Linked DNA regions of Homo sapiens: all the other regions are linked to region 1. The links are contacts of gene promoters, found by promoter capture Hi-C in blood cells and fetal thymus (Javierre and others, 2016). All regions are on one chromosome and are shown on one strand. Each heading gives the region's core, a stretch centred on a gene start or on the middle of the fragment in contact. The rest is flanking DNA. Distances are from core to core; before and after follow the strand shown.

Region 1 (2,793 bases), core at 82-2,581:
CCCCGTCTTTGTATTTTTGAAAAATACAAAAATTAGCCTGGCATGGTGGCGGTCGCCTGTAATCCCAGCTACTCGGGAGGTTGTGGCAGGGGAATCGCTTGAACCAGGAGGCTGAGGTTGCAGTGAGCCGAGGCTGCGCCACTGCACTCCAGCCTGGGCGAGAGAGTGAGACTCCGTCTCAAAAATTAAAAAAAAAAATCCAGTTGGAGAATCAAAAATTTTTAAAAATTTGACTGTGTAATCCTACAAGAAGTAAGTAGCTTGAGAAAGAGAAATGCTGATAAAGTCGCATTAAGTTTCAGAGTTGAAATTCAAGCTCCTGTATCTAACATGTTTCCCTGTTTAAGGTAGAATTTAAAAAAAAACTATATATGACATATATATGTCAACCCAAAAAAATAAAGCAGTATATATTATATATATAAGAATATATATATATTCTCCTTTATATGTTTTTTGTTTCACATATATATATAAATATATATCTCAACCACAAAAAAATTTGGTTTGTGACAAAGATGCACTTATTTGCACGAACCTATCTTGTTAATGATCAAGAAATCTGCTTTGTTACAATCATTAGAGGACAGAAATATACATACATATTTAAATCTATTTAATGAAATGCAGTTTTATGTTAAAAATCAATGATCTGCTAACCTAAAGAGTCGCACAGGAATACTATGATTATTAAACACAATGCGATTCTCTAAATAAGTAAACACGTGCAATGATATCAAAGTTCAAAATTCTCTAATTCTTCCACAAAGACTATGAAAATCACCTTGGAGTGTATGAACCAGCGTCCTGGCCCCGCCAGGTCGGGGCTGGGGCGGGCGCGGGCCGGGAGCGCTTACCCCGCGGCAGGAGCGATTCAGCGCCACTACCTGCTTCGCCTGGTTGTGGTGTGGCTGCTGCGCCAACCGAAAGGCCTCCTTAATCCGCAGCAGTCTCTTTTCGCTCCCATGGCTCTGGGACTCTGTCCGGACTAGCCCTGTCCGCGCTCGGCTACATCCGGCCCGCCCACCAGCTCAGAGGCAGAGTTCTCCGCGGTGTCTCCTAGGGTTTCTTGTCAGAGGGCCCCAGGCGCCTAGGGAGTCGTTACCGCCCTGGCATTCAAATAACTCCCGCGAGAGGCGGAAATCCCGCGAGACTGCCGACAGAGCGTAGGGAAGTGGAAAAGTGGAGCCTGCACCGCCCGCTCCCGGCACCCCCGGACACCGCCCCGGTCTCACGCATGCGCAGAGGGCCGATCCAGTTCTTTTCGGCTGGAATGGGGAATTTGTGAGGTAGGCCGGAAGTGGTGTTGCGGAGGGAAGTGTGGGGAGAGCAGAGGCGCAGCTCTGCTGGAGAGACCTGAGGCTTGCAGCGCTGGGCCCGGCCGGGTCGCTGCGGCTGGGCTGGAGGTGAGGCGAAAGAAGGGCATCCTCTGATGGGAGTGGACCGGAGTCCGCTAAAGCGAAGCATTCCAGGGTTCGTTGCGGGAAATACAGTCTGGTTTTGCCCCCCGTATGAATTGAGGGAAGGTGAGAGCAGAAGCAATCCGGGCCTGAAGGGCGATTATTCTAGGGTCGGCCGAGGGGTTCAGGCCAAAGTTCATTGAAATCCTAGCTGGGTCCCTGGAGGACGAGAAAACCGGTCAGGAGTCTCCTGGGAAGAGGGTCATGTTTTAATCTAGCTAAAGCTGGTACCTGGCAGTTTCCACTCTTAAGGCCTAGTGTACTAACTAATGTGTGCGCAATGTCAAAACAGGAAACAAAGGGAAATGCAAGAGGTGGAAGGTAATTTTAAGTTAGTGGCAGTATGACAGATTTCCAGTGCCTTCAGGAAGGTATCCAGCCTTAAAGATGCTTTTTTTAAATAGACGATTTTAGACAGAAAAAAGGTAGAAACAAAACTATAACACATGTGTACTCACCACTGAATTGGAGAAATAAATGATTATATAAGTGATTGAAGTCCTTTGTCAGCTCTACCCCGTCTCATTCTCTTTCCTTTTGCCTAAGGAAACCACTCTCCTAACCACCTTTATGCAATCTGTAATGTGTACATCTTTTTGCAGCTAGCTTGTTTTACATAATGTTTTTGAGATTTGTCAGTGTTGTGTAACTCCACCTTATTCATCTTAATAGCTGAACAGATATTCTGTTATTTTAATATGTCACTGTTCATTGTTTAGTATCTCCAGTGCCTGACATACTTTAGGCACTGTAGGTAGCTAAATGTTAGTTGAATGCATGGCTGCTGTAGCATTTGAACTAAGTAGAAAAGAATAAATAGGACTTCATGTGACCCAACAAGAGTATTCCAGGCAAAAGGAATACTAGCCAAAAGCAGAGACATGAAAGTGCATGAACTATTTCAAGAATTTCCATACTTTTAGTACTGAAATGTAGAATGTATGGAGATCATGTGATGAAGGAGAAACCTGGAAAGATGAGGCTTAAGCTTAAAGGATATTATCCTGAAGAGCTTACACAAGCTCGGCGCCATTAAATGCTTTTCCAGTTATGAGGAAGCTGATTAGAGCTGTATTTTCAGAAGATGATACAGCGCACTAGAGATATATCTTAGGATATAAAAGATTAGTGACGGGGAATTTTAGACTATCAAGCATTGTAACAATAACAATCATTGCATTAAGCAAGTAAGACAACCAGCCAGACTAAAAATCCAAAAACATTTTCCTAGTCCATCATATTATCACATTCCTTAACAATTATTAATATTTCATATTTTCTTCTGACAAACTTGCAACATTTTCTACTTCGGCCTCTTACTTAGATGATACCT
Region 2 (2,793 bases), core at 208-2,707, 450 kb before region 1:
GAAAGAGAAGAGAAGAAATAGAAATGGGAAAAAAGAGAACATAGCCAAGGAGCATGAATGGCTTAAAGGAACACTGAAGAAAAGGAATTTGGTTGCTAGCATGCAGTTAGGAGTGATTTGTGCATTGCTACCTAACCCTCATCCCCATTAAGCCAAACAAGCACTCACGTGGGTCTTGTGTGGGTAGATATTTTTGGTGGAAATCAGTGAAGGAAGAGGTTCAATTTGAAACAGAACAAGGATACACTTTGCTGAGCATTGTGACAAAACTGTCACAACCAATTACCCAATGAATATATGGGCAGCGGGAGATTTAGAGATGATTGGAAAAGGCTTAAACTATCCCATCCTGCCCCACCCTTCAAATCCCTTCAGAGATGGGAAAAGATAAATAACCCTTGCAGTATACAGAATTAGATTTAAGTCTTTTCACTTGAATTTCAAAAGACAACCCACTTCAGCTGATGTATGGGTTCAAAACAAGAGCTCAGCCAAAAGAAAGTAAATTAAATTTTCTTTAAACATGATGTTTGAAGGTTCTCCAAAAGCTTGCAGTTTTTCTCTATTTTCTGAGCTCAGCTGGTGGGAGACACAGGATGGCCTCTATCCAGGATACTCCAAAAGTCTCAATGATTGGATATGACCCCTTGTGTCAGTCAGGTTTCTCTAGACGGACAGAACTAATAGGATATTTGTATATATGAAAGGGAGTTTATGAAGGAGAATTGACTCACCTGATCACAAGGTGAAGTCCCACAATAGGCCGTCTGCAAGCTGGGGAGCGAGGAAGCCAGTGGTGGATCAGTCCAAGTGCCAACACCTCAAAAGTGGACAAGCTGACAGTGCAGCCTTCAGTCTGTGGCCGAAGGCCCAAGAGCCCCTGGCAAACCCCTGGTGTAAGTCCAAGAGTCCAAAAGCCAAAGAACTTGGAGTCTGATGTTGGAGTGCAGGAAGCATCCAGCACGGGAGAAAGATGGAGGCCTGAAGACTCAGCAAATCGGCTTCTTCCACCTTCTTCTGCCTGCTTTTCCTAGCTACGTGGGCAGCCGATGGGATGGTGTCCACCCACATTGTTCGTGGGTGTTCATCTCCCAGTCTACGGATTTAAATGTTAATCTCTTCTGGCCATACCCAGAAACACCCAGATACATCCAGAAACAATACTTTGCATCCTTCAATCCAATCAAGTTGACACTTAATATTAACCATCGCAATCTTATAATCAGAACAATATCACAGGGATGAAAGGAAGAAAGTGAAGTCCTATTTTCTTGGAAAAACTTAGGGTCAAAGCCAGCGAAGCTGGGATCAAAAAAGAGATACAACCCTCAGGCAAGAAACGAAGCAGGAGCTGGAACTGAACAAGAAGCACCTGGGTAATCAGAGCACCTGGAGAGGAAGAGGCTTGGGCTTACATTTGCTGATGTCTGGGAGGTTCCAGCTGACCTGAAGTTCAGGTTAAAGGAAATAGCTGCAATCTATGATGAAATCCCCATCACCCACTAATAAACATCAAGTGTTCCTATGCGGGCCCTCCAATATCAAGTAACAATGTGTGCTAAATACATCAGCCCCCGTACTTCCTTGCTGTTTTGTAGAAAGATTGGTGTACTTTCCTCCTACCAAAGTCATCTTACAGATAAATTAATTCTGCTGTTTTTAAACTGCCTTTATCTCCATGGTCTTGGCATTTACGTGCCACATTTTTTTCGGTTGTATGTTAATGTGATATTTGTCCATTAAAATTCTGAAAGTCTTTAAAATGAGAGGAAGAAAAAACTTCCCGGATGTTCAGCCTAATATACCTTTCTGGGTGATCTCTGCCTTTCATTGTCTTTTAATTTTTTTTTTTTCTTTTGAGCCAGAGTCTTGCTCTGTCACCCAGGCTGCAGTGCAGTGGCACCATCTCAGCTCACTGCAACCTCCTCCTCCCAGGTTCAAGCGATTCTCCTGCCTCCGCCTCCCAAGTGGCTGGGATTACAGGCGTGTGCCACCATGCTCAGCTAATTTTTGTATGTTTAGCGGAGACAGGGTTTCACGATGTTGGCCAGGCTGGTCACGAACTCCTGACCTCAAGTGATCTGCCCGCCTTGGCCTCCCAAAGTGCTGGGATTGAGCCACCATGTGAGCCACCACGCCCAGCCTCATTGTCTTTGAATCCTTCTACTACTCTGTAAATTGTAGAAAGCTGAGTCATGCAAATATTTGTGACCAGATCAATGCAAATGAATTGTGTCCCATAGAATGCAATTGCTCTGTGGATACTTATCAGTTTGTATCTATTAAGAAAATTTATTTCTGCATTCCTGGTTGCCTCAGAGTAGACACTCAAAAATGTTTGTTGACTGAATAAATGATATATGAATGAAGCTTAAAATAGAAACCATAAGAACCCTCCAATTAAAGTGTACCATTCTTATAGGTAAGGTGGGATTCATAGCACACCGCTCATCTTTCAGCTGCCAAGGAGCCTTGTCCACAATGCCTCTAGGCCCTTCAGCCTCTACAGGTTCAGCTACTCACTACTTAATGCTCACTCAAATATAGTCTCAAATGAGGGCACTCCCACTTGCTGTCTTTTTTTCCCCCTCCAGTCCTTGAGATACCATGCATGGGTGGGATCTTTGATCTTCTGCTGAATAAAGGCAGCAGACTACCTAGAAAGGAAACTGCAGAGTTACAATAGGTACACCTCACCATGGAACACTATACATCAATTACAGAGAGAAAAAGAAGACAGAGGGAGAGAGAGAGAGAGAGAGAGAGAAGTGGCAGAAAGATGTGGAACTTATC
Region 3 (2,793 bases), core at 104-2,603, 440 kb before region 1:
AAATAAAAATAAGTAAATAAATACCTGATACTGGGTAATTTATTTTAAAAAGAGGTTTATTAGCCTCACGTTTCTGCAGGCTGTACAAGAAGCATGGCTCCAGAACTTGGTTGGTTTCCAGTGAGAGCCTCCAGAACTTGCTTGGTTTCCAGTGACAGCCTCAGGAAGCTTTTACTTATAGCAGAAGGCAAGGGGAGCAGGTGTGTCACATGGCAAGAGAGGAAGCAAGAGAGAAGGGAGGGGGTGCCAGGCTTGTTTTTAACAATCAGTGAACTAATAGAGTAAGAACTCCCTCATTACTGTGAGAAAGTCACTAAGCTATTCATGAGTGTCTGCCCCATGACTCAAACACCTCCCGCAAAGGGCGCACCTCCAACACTGGGGATCAAATTTCAACATGAGATTTGGAAGGGACAAACATCCAAACTATATCAGCACATGTGGCCAGTCATGAGTTTTTGTTTTGGCATGTTGCCTCTCATCTGCCAGAATCCCTAGAATCTCATCTGCCAGAATCCCCAGGTAATCATCCTGTCCAAAAGCCTATTGGGTCCTTGCCACATTTCAGTCAATGTGTCTGGTCAAGGGATAAGGTCAAGGTTGGCAGGGAGTCATGTGCTGCCGATCCCTAGTCTGGTTCTTTGTTTAAAACTCCCACCAGCTCCTTTGGTTTCCCTTACCTCAACCACCACCATGTACCCAAATCTATGTGCCAAATAGGTTTTAAAGCCCCCTGATCATAAACCTTAAAAAGTAAGCCTTTCTATGCACATGTTGAACTGCTTCATGTTGAACTGCCCTCCCCACTTCATTTATCCCATCTGATTGCAGTCTGCTTCCCCCTCCTTGCTACTAGCCTGACCGGGTCATTCATCAGTTCTTGTGCTTCTTTCTCTTTAGAGATGTGGTGCTTCTTCTACTCTTCCAGGTTCAACTCTGACTCCCCTCCAACTGTCCTGGGTGAAACCCCCTCCCTTGCTGACTCATCCCCAAGGCCCTCCCACTCCAGGCCACCCTCACAGATGCTTATCTGCCTGGGCTGGTTCTTAAAATCCATAATCAACGGCCAGATAATTTAATCCTACAAAGTGATTGGCAAATGTGACAGTCCAGGTCCTCCCAGGGACAGGTAACAAGACAGGGTTAAACATGTAAGGACTGTATTGGAGAAATGCCTGTGTAAGAGAGAAAATGATGGGAGCTGGGAAGGTTAGGAGGTCATCAGAACATGATAAGAATCTGACTCAAGCGAAGGAGAGAGGGAGAGGAGGTTGGGGGTAGGGGAAACATCACAGACTGCCTGTCATGCAGTCAAAAGAGGGTTCAGCAAAGCCATCGCGGAGTCCTTGAGAAAAAGCTGCTCACCCAGAGGGATCCCTTAGTCTACTTAGTGTCTGCACCAGGCTCTTCCTTGCCAGGAGCTACCCATGGGAGACACAGCCTTGGTACAAACACCACAGTGGATTTCAAAGCCCAGCAGCTGACTCTGCTGTCTGTGGTGGGGGGTCTGGAGGCAATGCTCATGGCCACCATGGTAGGCCACTTCATGCCAGATGGAAAGGTTGTCATGGGGGAGTCTATTCATTTATTCAGCAAATCATGTATGGAGCATCTCTATGCCAGGTGCTGTGCTAAGATTAAAAATCAAGGCCAGTTTTCTATGCCAGGCTACAAAATAGATTTTTCTGGGGTAGCTGCTCACTGATACTCTCATCAACCTCCTGAAAAAAATGTGCATTACTCCAAGGCCACTAGGATTTGCCCTCTCTTTCTTTAACCTCTGTGAAAGACAATCCTGCTTAGGAGTACAGAACATGGGCTATTTGATAGAGTGATACAGCAAGGTGGCTTGCATTGGGATGCAGTGGTTTCAGAGCAATTCCATGTCACTCAGAGGATCCCTGGGAAGTGACTCAGGAACATCCTTTGGAATCAAGAGGAAGCCAGTTGGGTTGGACTCCAGATCTACCAACATCACATTAACCAGAATAATTGTCCATTTAATATTTCATATCCTACAATTACAAATAGAAACTATTTTTTTAAAAGAGCATAACACTTTTAGAATTTTAAAGTCCAATTTGCAATGGAGTCAGATGACTCCTTTCTATTTTCCTAGAACTTAGCACAGTGCCTTACATACATTGGCAGTTAGTAATGTTAATACATAAACAAATTAGTGAATGAATGAAGTTAACCCAGTGAATCTGTTCCCAGAATGGCTCTTTTAGACAGTTACTATGTTTCCATTTTGCTGATCACAACTTGATATTCTCAGAGTTTCTATTAACTGGTCATGACAAGAGATTACCCAGAGTGGATACTGAGCTTCAGATCCAGGACATCTGAGTCCAAACTTAGAGCCCTTTGTACTGCACTCCTCTGTAGAGACTGTGTGTTCTAGAGCCTTCTTCAAAATCCCCCACTATATCCATGCAGTGTCTAACTGCAGGCAATATAAGGTTCTAGCATTTCTATCTTTTCATCATTTCTCCCCATTGGCCATTAGCAACAGCTACTCTCCATTCCCAGATACCAGCAAGCTTAAAAATAATCTCCCCTCTGCCTATTTCCACATTCTTCAGAAGGTTTTTAAATGCTTAGAGGATATGTGCTCTCAGGTATAGGCCTGGAGCAAGGAAACTTCAACTCCCCCTTTGGTTCTCTTTTTATGAAGTTTTCTCTGTACTTAGGAACATGCACCATGCCATAACAGAATTAAAACCTTAGATCTCTGTTTATAAAGATACAAGAGATAACCTAGTGAACAAGATGTGTTTTTTGTTTTTTGTT
Region 4 (2,793 bases), core at 209-2,708, 290 kb before region 1:
AAAGAGCCTGGCTGGTCAGGGGGCAGAAGGGAGAGAAGAGAGAGCCTGGGCCAGAGCCTTCACTGTGTTTTCCATGGGAAAAGCAAGACAGGGCAGGATAAACAGCTTAGGACTGGCTACTTGGAATAAGTCTGATGGCTTTGGAGCATAGGGACTGTCCCTAGTTGTCTGGTGCCTGGCCCTGGGGTGATTTAGGGAAGAGGGAATATTGGCTCCATGTGTAAGAATTCCATAAAAGAGATGGTGGGGGGCGTGGACTCTGGATTGGTGTTTTTGCATTTAAAAAAAGAGTGCTCTTGGGCAAGCCCCCTTGCTTTCTGTAAGAACTGGCTATGCCTGGGAGGTGCAGTCTCTCCCCAGTCAAATGCCAGAGCATCAGGAACACAGAAAACAAGAAAAGATAGTTAATACAACTGGCCCTGTGATGAATGGATGCCAAATAGACACAGACTCTAAGAAAACAAAGCTGTTACAACCACAACCCAGTTAAAAGAGGCCAGTATACTCAGACTCGTAACTCAGACATTCTCTACCAGGAGGCATGATGGGCTGGGAGCTGGGGGATAGTGAGAAAATAGAGAAAGGCAGGGCCGAGGGAGGGTCCATTGTTCAAATGACACCGAAAAAACAGCAGAAAATTGTAAGACCTACTCTGTGCTGAGAAAATACAGGGCACCTTAGATATATTGTCTCTAACAATCAAACCCTTTGAAACACATATTAGTATCACCATTTTACGGATGAGAAAAATGAAGCTGGGAGGGGTAAGTATCCTGCCCCTATGGTCATCTGGCCAGTCAGTGGTGGAAGTAGACGTTAAACCTCAGTCTTTTTGACTCCAAAGACACTGTTTTAACTTTAAAGTCTAATTTCTCTGAAATCTGGGCTTGAACCTGGGCAGATGCTAATCTCCAAAGAAATCAGTTTTAGTAAGTGGGGGGCAATGAAGAGGGCTCTAAGCAGTGGGAGTTTCAGGTCAGAGCAAAGCTGCAAAATTCCAAGTAAAGCTTCCAAACAAGTAAGTGGATGTGGCTGAGACCTTCACAAGGACCTCAGGGAGGATGTCATTCCAACTTGACCAGGGCACCAGCAATGGATGAGGGCTGCAGCCTGACAGCACCCGAATGTGAAGATTCAGCCACTTGTACCGCATCCTGGGCCTCACTGCTCCAAATTCCCACCAAGGTGGGCCTGAGCCAACCTCCATCAGGTTGGAGATGATTGAGATTGAGAGGCTCTGGCTGTGCCTTCAAATGGGAGGGGCAGGGGGCAGACAGCACTGACACAGAGGACCATAAAATGTATCTAGCAGAGCAGGAGAGCTCCATCTGGAGGTCAGGCGAAGTAGTACAATTGTGCACTATCTTTTCTCAGCGCTTCCAGTGTTAATCATGATCTGGGGGCAGCTGAGCAGATCTCATGTATTCAGCAATTATTTATTGAGCACCAAGCAGCATATCATATTTTAGTTTCCAAAAACCCTAAGACAAAGACTTAGGGGGCACATTATTTATATGCATAAAGCAGGGAGTAGGGACAGAAAAAGGATAATAAAGCTAAAAAAAAGGTGTGTTATTGAGTGGTTGGCACTGTGGGCAACTGATGCTCAGTCCCTCTGAGGACCCTGAGAGTTCCTCAGAACACCCCTCAGAATTGTCCCATCAGCAGAGGAGAGGCTGTGTCTTCACTGACTGAGGGTTTCCTGGGTGGCTTTCCATCACCAGCCCTTCTTGGCAGCCCACACACTGAATAAACTTTCCTGTAGTTCCAGAGAAAGGGACACAGGCAACTCAGGGGGTGGCTGTCAGTGTGATGGCATATTAGTCTGTTTTCACGCTGCTAATAAACACATACCTGAGACTGGGCAATTTACAAAAGAGAAAGGTTTAATACAGTTCTACGTGCCTGGGGAAGCTTCACAATCATGGCAGAAGGCAAGGAGGAGCAAGTCCCGTCTTACATGGATGGCAGCAGGCAAAGGAGAATGAGGAAGATGCAAAAGCAGAAAACCCTGATAAACCACCAGATCTTGTAAGACTTGTTCACTACCATGAGAACGATATGAGGGAAACCGCCCCCGTGATTCCACCGGGTCCCTCCCACAACACATGGGAATTATGGGAGTACAATCCAAGATGAGATTTGGGTGGGGACACAGCCAAACCATATCAGATGGAAACTTCCCACTGCAGCTTCAAGTGAGCTCAGAGGTGGATTGAGAGCCCTGGAGCAGGGCAACAGCAGTTTCTGATCCCCTAAGACCTCTCGGAGACTGTTCTCCCACAGTGGACTCTATAGCTACTCGCCTGCTCTGCAACCTCCTGGGCCTAAGCTCAGGGCTCCTCTGTCTGAGTGGTCATCCCCTACTCAAATTCAGGAGTGAGCTCAGACAACTCTTCCTCTAAAATATGCTTTGTGAGCATAAAATCTGAGGCAGGAGTGTGCCTCTGCACCTCTGGCTATCTCTAGAGGCACCTGGATAGTGGTTACAGGCCTGAGCTTACAGCTCCGTGTCACACTGGGCTTGAAGATAGTAAGTCATGGCCCTTATCTTCAAGGGACTTAAAGTCTCAAAGACAAGAAGACCACAACTCTCTCTAGGCTGTGAGCATTCCCAAGAGTTCTTAAGGCTTCACTTATGAATGTGCTTTCTGAGAAATAAAAAAGAGCAACATTCTATGCACTCAGCTCCACTGTAGATCCTAAATTAGTCATAGGATCCCCAACAGACCACCTACCAAAGCCCCACCCAGGGAGATTCATTAACAAATCAAATTAAAATCTCTCAGCAGA

The links. Contacts are between HindIII fragments. The CHiCAGO score rates a contact against its expected background, and 5 or more counts as called.
Region 2: a contact is called between a fragment that was not itself captured here and the fragment with the promoter of FAM200B in region 1, in 11 of 17 cell types (naive CD4 T cells, fetal thymus, activated CD4 T cells and 8 more). The highest score is 10.5, in naive CD4 T cells.
Region 3: a fragment that was not itself captured here is called in contact with the fragment with the promoter of FAM200B in region 1 in 1 of 17 cell types (naive B cells); the score reaches 5.9 in naive B cells.
Region 4: a contact is called between a fragment that was not itself captured here and the fragment with the promoter of FAM200B in region 1, in 1 of 17 cell types (non-activated CD4 T cells). The highest score is 5.6, in non-activated CD4 T cells.

What each region holds. Positions count from the first base shown.
Region 1 is chr4:15,680,496-15,683,288 of GRCh38, forward strand. FAM200B (family with sequence similarity 200 member B) reads left to right here and starts at 1,332. Exons shown (of 2, transcript NM_001145191.2): 1 at 1,332-1,406. It also overlaps a transcript of FBXL5 not described here. RefSeq lists enhancers at 832-1,131, 1,302-1,541, 1,552-1,601. The HindIII fragment of the contact is 4,207 bases long and covers 1-2,446 here.
Region 2 is chr4:15,227,114-15,229,906 of GRCh38, forward strand. The region is part of intron 2 of C1QTNF7-AS1 (C1QTNF7 antisense RNA 1); the gene reads right to left. Among named protein-coding and RNA genes, the nearest start is that of C1QTNF7-AS1, 200 kb to the right of the region's middle. The HindIII fragment of the contact is 1,822 bases long and covers 547-2,368 here.
Region 3 is chr4:15,244,214-15,247,006 of GRCh38, forward strand. The region is part of intron 2 of C1QTNF7-AS1 (C1QTNF7 antisense RNA 1); the gene reads right to left. Among named protein-coding and RNA genes, the nearest start is that of C1QTNF7-AS1, 180 kb to the right of the region's middle. The HindIII fragment of the contact is 2,375 bases long and covers 167-2,541 here.
Region 4 is chr4:15,395,073-15,397,865 of GRCh38, forward strand. All of the region lies in intron 1 of C1QTNF7-AS1 (C1QTNF7 antisense RNA 1), which reads right to left. It also overlaps a transcript of C1QTNF7 not described here. Among named protein-coding and RNA genes, the nearest start is that of C1QTNF7-AS1, 31 kb to the right of the region's middle. The HindIII fragment of the contact is 907 bases long and covers 1,006-1,912 here.